Linked DNA regions of Homo sapiens: all the other regions are linked to region 1. The links are contacts of gene promoters, found by promoter capture Hi-C in blood cells and fetal thymus (Javierre and others, 2016). All regions are on one chromosome and are shown on one strand. Each heading gives the region's core, a stretch centred on a gene start or on the middle of the fragment in contact. The rest is flanking DNA. Distances are from core to core; before and after follow the strand shown.

Region 1 (4,659 bases), core at 1,567-4,066:
AAGTATTTGGTAAATAAATGAAAAAGTAATGTCGAGTAAAAACGATATAAAATTTTATAAAATGTGATTTCTGTGAAGAAGCTGTATAGAAAAAGAATTGGAAAGACACACAAACAAATGGGAAAAGAGGTCATGGGCAATTTAAAAAAATAGCTTTATTGAGGTATACTTTGACATGCCATAAAATTCACCCATTGTATGTGTACAATTCAATTACTTCATTTATACAACTGTTCAATTATCACCATATTCCAGCTTAATGGTCAATATTTGCTTTGTCATTTGATCTTTTCTCTATGGTAAGCAAAAATCTATTATTTGAAAGGTTCCTTCACTGAAAGCTGGGTGGAGTTGAACTCTAAAATTACCTACAAAATTACTTTCTATCTAGTCATCTATGTCTAATTCTTCAATTTGACACATGCATGTTACTAGCACAAGCTGCATTTTAAAGGCAGCAGGAAGGTCTTTTACTATCATTAGAAGTTAACTTTAAGGATTGAGCAGGCACGATACAGCATAGATTGTTTCGTGTGCTATATAGTAAGGTCAATATTCTTGCTCCTTCTACAAATAAAAAAAAGTTCCACAGAATAACAAGTACAGGTGGAGTTCCCAACGGAAATGCAGGTACTGAATACAACCAACTGCAACTGTTTCTCTGCTCCTCAATCCTGCTGGCGTAGTACGCGAGCTGCCGACGTCCCCCAACCCACCAGGTAAGCCGGCCGCTCCTGTCCCTAGGCTGTGAGGGGTTCAGAGGTAAGACCTTCGGTGTATTCACTTAGCTCCCTACGGAAAACTTCGAGAAGAAGGCGACTGAGATCGGTTAGCACTTAAATCCCTTTCAAAGCCCCGGCTCCCATCGCCCCTCCTATGGCCTCCTACCTGCAGAGAAGCAAAGCAGGTACACCCAGTGCCTTAGGCGGGCCAAGCCTAGCACTGTGGGAGCAAAAAACATGGCTTCATCGTCAGGGTGCGCTATGACCAGCAGGGTCCGGCTTTCGGCTCCCAGCCGTCCTCCCTGCTCCCGACTCTTCATTCGTTCTGAGGAGTCCCAAACCCAGAGGAAGCCCCATGCCAAGACCGCCAACGCCACACACAGGAGCCACATTGCTTCCATGATGGGTAAGCAGCACTGAGCCTGCGCAGTAGGAAAGGCTGCCTCTGACCCTGACTCCGGCTGGAAAACTTCACCGGGGAATGTTGGGTTCCGCTGTTAAGTCCCTCCCGCCGACATGCTCCGGAAGCTTGAGGTTTTAACGTTAAGGGTTCTCTTGTGTTTTAACACAGAAGTCTCCATGCCGTCCAGTTTCCTACCCTAGTCCTACCACACTGTACAATCGGTTTAAAAGGAAGCGTCTTATATATAAGCTCCCACTTATAGGAAGAGTTCCTTCCTCTTCATTTTCGAATTCATTTCTTAAAACTCGGGCCTTTCTCGTAATTATAGGGTTAGACAGCCCGTTATCCGTATGACAGTTTTCCAAAATAGCCAGTTACACCAACTTTGTTATTCCTTCTCACTTTTGGATGGCTTTCTTTACCTTTTTTTTTTTTTTTGAGAGGCTCTGTCGCCCAGGCTGGAGTGCAGTGGAGCGATCTCGGCTCACTGCAACCTCTGTCTCCCGGGTTCAAGCGACTCTTCTGCCTCAGCCTCCCGAGTAGCTGGGACTATAGGCGCGCGCCACCACGCCCAGCTAATTTTTGTATTTTTAGTAGAGAGGGGGTTTCACCATGTTAACTAGGCTGGTCTCGAACTCCTGACTTCGTGATCCGCTCGCCTCGGCCTCCCAAAGTGCTGGGATTACAGGCCTGAGCCACCGCGCCCGGCCCTTTCTTTTTTTTTTTTGAAACGGTCTGGCTCCGTCGCCCAGGCTGGAGTGCAGTGGCGCGACCTAGGTTCGCTGCTACCTCAGCCTCCCGCGTTCAAGCAATTCTCCCACTTCGGTCTCCCCAGTAGCTGGGATTACTGGCGCGCGCCACCACGCCCGCTTAATTTTTGTATTTTTAGTAGTGACGGGGTTTCTCCATGTTCGTCAGGCTGGTCTCGAACTCCTGACCTTAAGTGATGGCCCGCCTCGGCCTCCCTAAGTGCTGGGATTACAAGCGTGACCCACTGCGTCCGGTCGGGCCTGGCTTTTCTAAAGGAACGTATGCGTGCGGTTACGAGGAACCGTCGTTTCCCCAGCAGGGTGAGGCTGAGCGTGCACTTAACAGTCGCGAGGGCCACAGGCTCCTCTTGCAAGTAACTTAAGGTTAAGGAGCAACATCGTGGACAAATCGGCCTCGCCCAGCATTTCAGTGAGGGCTTGGTGCGAATTCCAGCCAGAGCCCTAGAAAGTATCTTGGGCAGGTCGAAATGCACCCCTCCAGCTCCCAGCCACGAGGGGACCGGCTTCCCTGTACGCAGCTCCGGCCAGAGGAGGCCGCCGCCGCCCCACCACGCCGCGGAGGGGTTTGCAGGGTCCCTTCCACGGCCTGGAGTTTTTCCTTTTCCCACGCCTGAGGAAGGCCTCGGGCGCGCGGAACAGACGGGCAGGCGGGGGGCGCACAAGCCCAGGGCACGATGGCAGCAGCGCTGGATCCGGCTGGGCGCTGCTCGGCCCCGTATCCGTCCGAGAGGACCGCCGCTGCCAGGCCTAGAGGAGACATGAAGAGACCGGGCGCAGCGCGACCCGGGAAGCTCCGCCGAGGTAGGAGAGGCGCCCGGCCAGCGGAGGGAGTTGGTCTCCCAACTCTCCGGAAGGAGGAGGAGCCGGCGCTGGAGCCGCCTTAGCCGCGGCTCCGCGGGCTGGGGGGAGGGAGAGGGGTTGAGTCAAGATGGCGGCCAAGGTGGCGAAGCAGCAGCCGCGGCGGCGGCGGCGGCTGGAGTGAGCGTCCGACTCGCCGCGCCGAACGAGGTCCCGGTGTAGGGCCGCGCGCCGTGGCCGCGTCCCACTCCTCAGGCCGGGGCGCACGTCGGCTCCCACGCTTAGCCAGCTCCCGGTGAGTAGGCCCTGGCGCCTGCAACCCCGGCCTCCGGGCTCCTGCTAGTCCGGGGGCTTCCGAGGGCTCCCGGGGCAGCAGCCGCTGGGACGGTTTCTCCGCCGGGCGGGGGGTGTCGCAGGCCTGGGCAGGTCGGGACCCGTCCTGGCCGCCTGGCCTCTTCCACTCGGCAGCCCAGGAGAGAGCCGGGCGCGGCGGGGAGCTCGGGCTGGGCTAGCGGAGGCTTATGGAGTTTGGAGGAAGAATGGGCTGTGGCCGGGCCGGGGCTGGCCCCGAGGTGTCCTGTGCGGAGGGGCGTGCGGAGCCTACAGGGCCTGCGAGGGAGAGCGGGCAGCCGGTGCCCCGGGTGGGGCCGGCGCAGGTGGCGGGCCTGGGCTCACTGAGGCGGAGTTGGTGGCCGACTTGGAAGTGTAGAAGGGGCTGCGGAGGTTGACAGCCATGGACAAGTGCGTGCAGAGTAAATTAGTTCACCTTTCTAACAGACCGCTTCAGGGTGTAATGGCGAAGGCTGGGTACTGGTGGAGATGGCAAAGATCCGAACACTATACCTTCTGCCGTTTATTGTTGGTGTTTTCTTAAGCGAAGTCCGTAAGTGCACCCCTTTTTGGGGAGAGAGGAATTTGAGAAACTGTAGTTGTGAAATCAGCCTTTATGGAGAGGAGACTGAATTCTTCAAATTAACTGGATCAGGAATAGTCATGTATTAAAGGAATGGATGGGAATAAGTGATATGGACGAAAACTATTTGCTCAGGAAGTGTCAGTTTTCTTTATGTGATGTTGCATGCTGCGGTGCCTCTTCCACAGAGTTAACCTTGGAGAGTAGTAGTATAGGTAATTCTAATCTTTGGGATTAGTATGTAAACCTGCATCAGATTTGCTTCTCTAATTATATCCTAATTATATTGAAATTTACATTCCTTGTGTGCACCCTGGTGAGGCAGTGATGGAAGGCTGAACATGGCACTGTGCAAGGAGCAACAGGCCCGGGATTTAAAAATGCCTACAAAGATTCATTCATTCGTTCAATATATCTTGATCAATAGCTGCTGATGCTGGGTCACATGTGATTGTCCTGTGGATAACTGAAGAGTTGATGGCATCGTTTAATTTTTAATAGCTTTTTAAAATGTTTTGATGTACCTTTTCATGAAGATATTTATTGGATGAACCAACTTGTACTTGCCCGGGCTCAGGAGCAGACCAATTTTAGAATGTTATTTAGACAAGGGTAACAATTACAGAAGAAGTAACCGCAAGTTACTGGAGAGAGAAATCTTGTATCTTTTTTTCTTTTTCTGTTAACATCCGGTGGAAGTTTATTTATTTGTTTTAATATTTATAGTACCCAGTTGCTTGGCCTTGCTTTAAGCACACCTGTTAATGGAAATCAAGATTAATTGTATATATGGATATAGCTATGTATAAAATGCTCACAGTAGGAACTGATTACTTACAATACTAAAATACTCTTTCCTTTTACAAAAGGCTTGCCATATGTTGAACTACTCCCCCGGAGAAAATATAATACAAAGTATCTTGATTCTTGCTCTAACTATGTGATTTTGGAACTTGATCAACCTTTCTGTGCTTCAGTTTCCTCATCTTGAATATTAGGTAAACATCTACTCTCCTAGGGTTGGCTGTTGTGAGCCTAAAGGGAGTTAATAGT
Region 2 (4,659 bases), core at 745-3,244, 140 kb after region 1:
TTACCTCCCCCACACTCTTCCTCCCAACTCCACTCTACACATTAGCCGGTTACCACGCTTACGTTCTTTTATTGTACCTTTCTCTGTCTCACCTTGGGGTCTTCGTGTTCACTGTTCACACTGCCTGTACTTTTTCCTCCTATTACCTTTGACTTGAACAACTCTTATTCATCCTTCATTCTCAGCTTACACATTGCTTCCTCTGAGCAGGCTTATCTGAACCTGGAGGTGTTAGGTTTCTCTCCTAGCATTTTCATAGCACATTATACTTCTCCTTTCATAGCTTATTTTACTACATAATCTGTACCTACATTATTGTGTAAGTTTCATGCAGAAAGGGACTTAATTTGTTAATCTTACCTGCAAGCCTAGCTTATGCCTAGCACACAGTAGGCATCAATAAACACATTTGAATGAGTGAAAATATTTTCATGAATCATCTACACATATTTTATTGTAGGTTAAGACAAGTTTTAATATTATTATTTTTATAAGATAGACTATGAAACTAACCTATTTACTGTACATTGTATACCATGTGCTCCGTCTGAGCAAGTCTTGTTTGTGTATTCTGTAGATATTAAGAATGCCCGAGAAGGGACTAGGAGTCCAAGAACAGCTCATGAAATCAGTTTAAAGAGAAGCTATGAATCAGTGGAAGGAAATATAAAGCAAGGGATGTCAATGAGGGAGTCTCCTGTATCAGCACCGTTAGAGGGTAAAGCATTGTTTTCAGAATGTTATTTTGATACATGTTATTTTATATAGTAATTTTGCATTGTTGAATTAAGTTGTATGCAATTTCTGTCATTTCCACCTGAAATGTATATTTATATTAAGTTGTATGCAATTTCTGTCATTTCCACCTGAAATATATATTTATATTAAGTTTATATCTGTATATAAAGTGGCACATAACAATGGAAGGAAGTCAAATTTAAGCGTAATTGGTCATATCATAGGTTACTATTAGAATGTTCATATTTGAATGCTCATACAATTTGCAGATTATTCCTGTTTCAGCTAAGTGAGTTAAAAAAGGTAAAGTTTATTATGAGAACTTCTTTTTGAATTGTGAGACAGATAAAGTGGTGTAATGGATAAAGACATGAATTTAAATTTCAGCTTCACCCTTCCCTGGTAAAATTCCTTTGAGCCTGTTTCTTCCTCTGTAAATTAAGGGATCGTACCTAACACTGTGTGAGGGTTAGAGGCAGGTGTCTGAACTGGTGCTGCTCATGTGATATGGCTTCAGTACATGATCAGTATGATTTTGTTTTGTTAATGGCCCACTTTGTTTAAATCTTAACCTGCCTCAACCAATTTTAAGCTAGATGAAATACTAAAAGCAGGGTAAGTCCTGTGTAATTTTCTAAGAGCTGTATTTTTCTCTATGTTAAAAACACACACTTTTACTGTAAATATGTGTGGTTATTTCTAACCCTTGATTTATATTTATCAGCAACAATAATGTGAAGCTTCTTAGGAGGTTATTTACAACTCTTTCGTTTCAATTTGCATGTTTCATTTAATACATTTTCCCTATTTTTATGGTATCCATATTTCCCGTTTTCCCTTTATCACAAGTATATTTCAAAGCTAAGCAATGGTTTCCAATCCTGTATCTTCTTTCCTCTTGATAAAGAAGTGTTGGGATTTTAGATTTAACTTTGAAGGTATCTTTCCTTTTCAACCTTTCATTAGATGCCTTTGGTGGCCATTTTTTATTTAGGAAAATATTTACAAAGGACTGTGTGATGTCATATTAGGTACTTCTGGATAGTTCACAAACTTAAATTGACATTCCTTCCTTCATAGAGCATTTATCAAAAACATAGACTTTAAGAACAGCATTCAGTATATGTGAGTTGACATATACATTATGTTGAATAATTGAATTGCTTTCTTGTTTTGGAAGGGCTGATATGCCGAGCATTACCCAGGGGGAGTCCTCATTCTGACCTCAAAGAAAGGACTGTATTGTCTGGCTCCATAATGCAGGGTAAACTTTCTGCTTGTTTTGCATTTTTATTTATAACTGCCTCCCTGGCAAAATAGTTTGACATTAATTTACAGTGTATTTCTGCTTTTCAAGTTATTTTCCCTTTTGAAATATTAAAGTCTTGGTTATTACTTTTCTGCCTCTGAGCTACATAATTTATTGGAAGATGATAGTTGCTTAATCTTTTAATATAGAGATATCTTTATTATGCAAGAACCATTCTGTGACTATTATGAATGATGCATTAATATCATATCTCAAGCAACCCTAAAGAAATAATGATTGATAAATACTGATTTGAGGATCTACTGTAAACAGAAAGTTAATTAGAAACTACAAGATGTCAAGGCATTATTTTAAATTATGTTAAAATATATGTAACAAAATTTACCATTTTAACCATTTTTAAGTGCACAGTTCCGTGGCATTGTTGTGCAACCATCAGCATTATTTTAATGTTTCCTGAATTCTTTTTCAAGGGACACCAAGAGCAACAACTGAAAGCTTTGAAGATGGCCTTAAATATCCCAAACAAATTAAAAGGGAAAGTCCTCCCATACGAGCATTTGAAGGTGCCATTACCAAAGGAAAACCATATGATGGCATCACCACCATCAAAGAAATGGGGCGTTCCATTCATGAGATTCCAAGGCAAGATATTTTAACTCAGGAAAGTCGGAAAACTCCAGAAGTGGTCCAGAGCACACGGCCGATAATTGAGGGTTCCATTTCCCAGGTAACTAAGTTTTGGCTCTTTTTGTCAGTAACTGATATTTATGGAACATTTAAAAAAGTGTGACTTAATAATTATAAGTGGTTCTTATGATGTCAGACCTCCTGGAAGTAAACATGAAAGTTTCCTGTACCTTTTTTTTTTTTCCTCTGTGGACCAGGCTGGAGTGCGGTGTGTGATCACAGCTCACTATATAGCCTTGACCTCCTGGGCTCAAGCGATCCTCCCACCTCAGCCTCCCGAGTAGCTAGGACTACAGGCATGTACCTCCACACCCAGAATTTTTGTATTTTTATAGAGACAGGGCTTTGCCATGTTGCCAAGGCTGGTCTCGAACTCCTGAGCTCAAGTGATCTGCCCATCTCAGCATCCCAAAGTGCTGGGATCACAGGCGTGAGCCACTGTGCTTGGCCTTTGTGTAATGGCACGATCTTGGCTCACTGCAACGTCCGCCTCCTGGGTTCAAGCGATTCTCCTGCCCCAGCCTCCCGAGTAGCTGAGATTACAGGTACCTGCCACCACGCCTGGCTAATTTTGTATTTTTAGGAGAGACAGGGTTTCTCCATGTTGGTCAGGCTGGTTTCGAACTCCTGACCTCAGGTGATCTGCCCACCTCAGCCTCCCAAAGCGCTGGGATTACAGGTGTGAACCACCATGCCTGGCCTTGTGTACTTCTTATCATCAGGTTTTCTTATGTCTATAGCATAGAGTGTGGAATGTGGGAAAGTATGCAGCTTGGGATCAGTGGGGTTGTGATTGAGATTTGTAAACAGACCAAAAAAGATCACCACAGTGAACTGTAACTGCCATGGGCCAGACATAGACCTGAGATAGAAAAGTAGCCAGATGACTTTGCTACCTGTAATGTTTGTTTCTTTCCCTTTAGGGCACACCAATAAAGTTTGACAACAACTCAGGTCAATCTGCCATCAAACACAATGTCAAATCCTTAATCACGGGGCCTAGCAAACTATCCCGTGGAATGCCTCCGCTGGAAATTGTGCCAGAGAACATAAAAGTGGTAGAACGGGGAAAATATGAGGATGTGAAAGCAGGCGAGACCGTGCGTTCCCGGCACACGTCAGTGGTAAGCTCTGGCCCCTCCGTTCTTAGGTCCACACTGCATGAAGCTCCCAAAGCACAACTGAGCCCTGGGATTTATGATGACACCAGTGCACGGAGGACCCCTGTGAGTTATCAAAACACCATGTCCAGAGGCTCACCCATGATGAACAGAACTTCTGATGGTATGTTACTTTTGTTGCTTGGTCTGATACTTTTTATTGCATTTAAAAAAAAAAAAAAAAACCTTTGTCAAGTAGTAAATATCAAATTGTCAGCTTTAGAGTATCCCAAGATCTACAGGTCTTGCTTGAGTCTAGGAGTATGGAAGGCTACTAATTTAAAAGTAGGCATAATTTAAGTAAAATACCTGATATTTAAATCAAGTGCAGATTATGATGCAGTCCAGAAATGCTATAGAGTAAGTATATTTTTAGAGTGGATTTTCAGCCAATTGCATAAGGTTTTCTGGAAGTCAGTTTTGACATTGTTCCTTCAGCGGCAGTGTGGTGTGAAAGCTGTAAGTAGCCTCTGGAACAAGACTGCATAAGCTTGAATTAACATTCTTACTGCATCAACTCAGATGAGTTACTTAGTTTTTTTGTAGCTTAGTTTCCTGATCTGTAAAATCATAATGTAACATTAAGACCTACCTCTCTGGATTGTTATGAAGATCAAATAAGGTAGTACATGTAAAGAACTTAGAATGGTGCCGAGTATTTACGAAGGGCTCGATAAATGTGAATTATTCCTGTTGGTGTTACTGTTGTTATTATTGTTGTCACTATAACCCCATGCTACTGGCAGCTACATCAGTTGAGAAGTGATTTTTACCAAGTGGTCCCTATCAACCTGAGGCCCT
Region 3 (4,659 bases), core at 1,333-3,832, 130 kb before region 1:
AGTGCTTAAGAGCAGGGTCAAGGAGTGCAGAACCCATTGGTGAGATTTACAGGACCCCCCACCCAACTGTTAGCATGCCGTCTGTAGCATGGGAGGGGCCTGGAGCATAGCAGGGCCTCTCACGGGCTTTGGTTTCAGGTTGACATTTAAAAGGTGGGCCCGGCACAGTGGCTCACGCCTGTAATCCCAGCACTTTGGGAGGCCAAGATGGATGGATCACCTGAAGTCAGGAGTTGAGGACCAGCCTGGCCAACATGGTGAAACCCTATCTCTACTAAAAATACAAAAATTAGCTGGGCGTTGTAGTGCATGCCTGTAATCCCAGCTACTTGGGAGGCCAAGGCAGGAGAATCACTTGAACCTGGGAGGTGGAGGTTGCAGTGAGCCGAGATCACACCATTGCACTCCAGCCTGGGTGACGAGTGAAACTCCATCTCAAAAAAAATGAAAATAAAAAATAAAAGGTTGTGTTATTTTTTACCTTTATTTTTTGGAGGCCTATTTGGTATTGTGGAAACATTTTCAAATTCAGAGAATCAAAAAACAATAAAATCACCCAAATCCTGTCAACTAAAGGTAACCACTGTTAATATTTTGGTGTCTGTCTTTGTGTATTATTTTCTACTCTGAGAAATACATCTAAACCTATTGTCTTATGTTTATTAAGTAGAATTTTACCATTCTTTTTGTTGATAAACTGCTTATCTCATTTCCCAATGAAAAGCTTATATACTTATTTGTAACTTTAATTTTATTATTTTGGGGAATTTTTTGTACTTGGTACAAAATTTGAAAGGTAGAAGAAAATGTGTATATACACAGTGAAAAATCTTTCCCTACTGTCCCCATGCCCCAGTCTCCCTCTTCCCCACAGCCGATTTCCTGGTCTACTTACCCCATCACTGTCTCTGCATCATTGCAGTTGAGTCCCGTTTTTTTCTGATTATCAACAACACTGGTGAACCTCCTTGGTATACATTTTTGACAATTTAGAAATTTCTTCTTTAGGATCAATTCTCTTAGAAATAAGTTCTCTGGCTATTCTGGGCACACTTCCTACACCCTGCTCTACAAGGAGCAGTTAAAAAAAAAGAGAGAAAGAAAATCTCCAGGTTAAAGAATACAGATTTTTTAAAAAAGACTTTTAGCACATTATGGGTAATGTGGGGTTGGGCGGGGCTTTAATTCCATCCAGATAATGCTGGATGGCTTGGGACCACTTGGCAGTCCTTCGCTGCTTTTCTGTGCTGCAGTGGCTATGGAGTGAGCAAGGCTCCTCAGGGAGCTATTTCTATAGGAAGCACAATTCTGGACGGTATGGCTGGGGAAGCGTAAAGAGGGTTAACAAGGATAAGAAACCTCCACCCCTTCCCCTTCAGCTGTCTGATTTCTCTCCCTAAAGGTAAGCCACTGTTTCTTGGATCCCTCTTCAAAGATACATATGCATATAAAAGCACATACAGGCCAGGCACAGTAGCTCATGCCTGTAGTCCCAGCACTTTGGAAGGCCAAGGCAGGCAGATCACTTGAGCCCAGGAGTTCAACACCAGCCTGGACAACATAGCGAGACCCCCATGTCTACAAAAAATAAAAAATCGGCTAGGTGTGGTGTTGCATGCCTATAGTCCCAGGTACTCGGGAGGCTGAGGTGGGAGAATCACTTGATCCTGGGAGGTCAAGGCTGCAGTAAGCTGTCGTCATACCACTGCACTCCAGCCTGGATAACAGAGTGAGATCTTGTCTCAAAAAAACAAAACAAAACAAAACAAAAACACCACACATACCAGTATATAGCCTTAAAAAAAAAAAAAGAAATGGTAGCATACCACGTACGTTGTTTTATACCTTGCTTAACTTTTTTTTTGAGACAGTCTCACTCTGTTGCCCAGGCTGGAGTGCAGTGGTGTGATCTCGGCTCACTGTAACCTCCGCCTCCCAGGCTCAAGTGATTCTCCTGCTTCAGCCTCCTGAGTAGCTGGGACTACAGGTGCCCGCCACCACATCTGGCTAATTTTTACATTTTTAGTACAGACAGGGTTTCACCATGTTGGCCAGGCTGGTCTTGAACTCCTGACCTCAAGTGATCTGCCCACCTTGGCCTCCCAAAGTGCTGGGATTACAGGCGTGAGCCACTGCGCCTGGCCTATACCTTGCTTTACTTTGTAACTTTGGCAATTGTTCCATGTTAGTTTTGTAGAGCTGTCTCATTCTTCTCAAAAGTTGGAGAATATTTCATTTTATGAGTGTCCATAATGCCTAACCGGTCCTCTATTGAGGGACATTTTCAATTTTTCCAATCTTTAGCCTTCATAAACAGTGCTATAGTATCTATATACCTATGTCATTGAGACATTTGGAATATATCTGTATAATAAATTTCAAGAAATGGAATTGTGTGCTAAAGCATATGTACACTTTAAAATTTTGGTAGATGTTGCTAAATTGTACCAATTCCTGTTCCTGTGACTGATATATGTGAGCACATATTTCTCTACATACTTGTCAATACCATGTTAACGGCTTTGATTTTGCCCACCTGACAGTGAAATACATCTCATTGAAGTTCCTTTGGTGAGCATTTCATAGGCTAAAGAGTGATTTATTTTTCTTTCTATCTGAACTGTCCGTTCATGTCCTTTGTCCAGTCTCCCGTTTGTATTATCCATTAAGGAAATTAGCCTGTCTATGACGTCTGGCAAATATTTTTTTCCTGGTTTGTCCTTTGTGGATAAATTAAGCACAGCCATCAGTTTTCTTAAGACCTTGAGCCGTTCTGTTTGGGGACATGGAGAGCCAGTCCCTTGGGTGAACTGTCTCTCCACATAGGCCCTGGGAAGCAAGCACTTTCCCTCCCTGATGTGATGTATCAGGGAAGGCTCAAGGCTGAATTCTGTATGCCGTTGACCTAAGGGAAGCTGTGAGCTGTCACGCTCCAGACTGACATGTCTCTGGATAGTGTAGATGGGTCTCTGTCCTCAAGAAGGTCCCAGTCTCTTCTGGAGATAGGAAATGGCCTCTTAGTACAAAGAGCCCTACAGAAGAGCTCCTGCCATTAAGTTATTTCAAGATTTTTTTTTTTAATGGTGCGATCTCAGCCCACTGCAGCCTCTACTTCCCCAGGCTCAACTGATGCTCCTACCTCAGCCTCCCAGGTAGCTGGGACTACAGATGTGTGCCACTGCACCTGGCTAATTTTTATATTTTTTTGTAGAAACAGGGTTTTGCCATGTTGCCCAGGTTGGTCTTGAACTCCTGGGCTCAAGCAATCCGCCTGCCTCGGCCTCAAAGTGTTGGGATTACAGGCATGAGCCACCATGCCTGGCCAAAGGTGTTTTTTTTTTTTTTTTTTTTGAGACGGAGTCTCGCTCTGTTGCCCAGGCTGGAGTGCCGTGGCATGATCTCGGCTCACTGCAAGCTCGGCCTTCCAGGTTCATGCCATTCTCCTGCCTCAGCCTCCCGAGTAGCTGGGACTACAGGCGCCTGCCACCACACCCGGCTACAAAGGTGTATTTTTTAAGTGACATAAAAATAAATGTCTTTGGGGCCAGGCGCAGTGGCTCACACCTGTAATCCCAGCACTTTGGGAGGCCAAGGTGGGTGAATCATGAGGTCAGGAGTTCGAGACCAACCTGGCCAACATGGTGAAACCCTGTCTGTACTAAAAATACAAAAAATTAGCTGGGCATGGGGGCACGCGCCTATAATCCCAGCTACTTGGGAGGCTGAGGCAGGAAAATCTCTTGAACCCATGCAGGTGGAGGTTGCAGTGAGCCAAGATTGCGCCACTGCACTCCAGCCTGAGAGACAGTGGGAGACTCTGTCTCAATAAATAAATAAATAAATAAATTAAATAAATAAATCTCTTTGTAAAAAAGAATACCGTTTGTCTGTTTTCACCTAGGGAGCTGAGCACATAACGACTTACACGTTCAATACTCACAAAGCCCAGCATACCTTCTGTAAGAGATGTGGCGTTCAGAGCTTCTATACTCCACGATCAAACCCCGGAGGCTTCGGTGAGTAAAGGGGATGGACTGCAAGCTCAGGGGGACACAGAGAGGCCCATGGTGCTCTCATTTAAAGTCTTATTTGGACAGGTGGGATGCTGACTAGACCCTGTCACATGCGTATCTTAGAGGAACAGGGCTCCTCAGCAGAGCGCTTTCCACATGATAGAATGTGAGTCGGGCTCCGGTGAAACTTTTCTGAATCCCATATCTGAATGTGGTGAAGTTGGACTTGGAGCCCATCCAGGTTGTGATTCTTATTCACTGGTGCTGGTAGAGCTGGTGTTGCTGGGGATGGTGTTGAAGGGTAGGGAGGAGAGGGGTGAGGAGATGGGCTTGTGGGGCCAGGGGAGGCAGCTTTAATAATGACAGGGGTTAAGGGAGTGAAGGAGGCAAGATTGGGGAGCATTGATAATGGCATTTGAAAGCTTTTTGGTTGTTCAAAAATTAGGCAGGACTGGCTGGCTGCGGTGGCTCACACCTGTATCCCAGCACTTTGGGAGGCCAAGGTGGGAGGATTTCTTGAGCTCAGGAGTTTGAGACCAGCCTGGGAAACATAGCAAAACCGTATCTCTGTTCTTTTTAAAAAATAATAAACAAGCAGGGAACCCTCCAAGCCCCGCTTCAGGGCCTGCTTGGGTCTGGGGAGTAA

The links. Contacts are between HindIII fragments. The CHiCAGO score rates a contact against its expected background, and 5 or more counts as called.
Region 2: a contact is called between a fragment that was not itself captured here and the fragment with the promoter of NCOR1 in region 1, in 1 of 17 cell types (endothelial precursors). The highest score is 7.1, in endothelial precursors.
Region 3: a fragment that was not itself captured here is called in contact with the fragment with the promoter of NCOR1 in region 1 in 11 of 17 cell types (M2 macrophages, M0 macrophages, total B cells and 8 more); the score reaches 12.8 in M2 macrophages.

What each region holds. Positions count from the first base shown.
Region 1 is chr17:16,213,691-16,218,349 of GRCh38, reverse strand. It overlaps NCOR1 (nuclear receptor corepressor 1), which reads left to right and starts at 2,816. Exons shown (of 46, transcript NM_006311.4): 1 at 2,816-2,988. It overlaps PIGL (phosphatidylinositol glycan anchor biosynthesis class L), which reads right to left and starts at 1,140. Exons shown (of 7, transcript NM_004278.4): 1 at 889-1,140. The coding sequence starts at 1,123. RefSeq lists enhancers at 1,115-1,364, 2,551-2,610, 2,188-3,103, 3,104-4,020 and a silencer at 2,881-3,350. The HindIII fragment of the contact is 4,024 bases long and covers 1,253-4,659 here.
Region 2 is chr17:16,069,488-16,074,146 of GRCh38, reverse strand. NCOR1 (nuclear receptor corepressor 1) reads left to right here. Exons shown (of 46, transcript NM_006311.4): 28 at 578-718; 29 at 1,919-2,002; 30 at 2,482-2,738; 31 at 3,622-3,982. Among named protein-coding and RNA genes, the nearest start is that of TTC19, 72 kb to the right of the region's middle. The HindIII fragment of the contact is 1,028 bases long and covers 1,481-2,508 here.
Region 3 is chr17:16,343,954-16,348,612 of GRCh38, reverse strand. CENPV (centromere protein V) reads left to right here. Exons shown (of 5, transcript NM_181716.3): 4 at 3,902-4,016. Among named protein-coding and RNA genes, the nearest start is that of CENPV, 7.2 kb to the left of the region's middle. The HindIII fragment of the contact is 3,711 bases long and covers 727-4,437 here.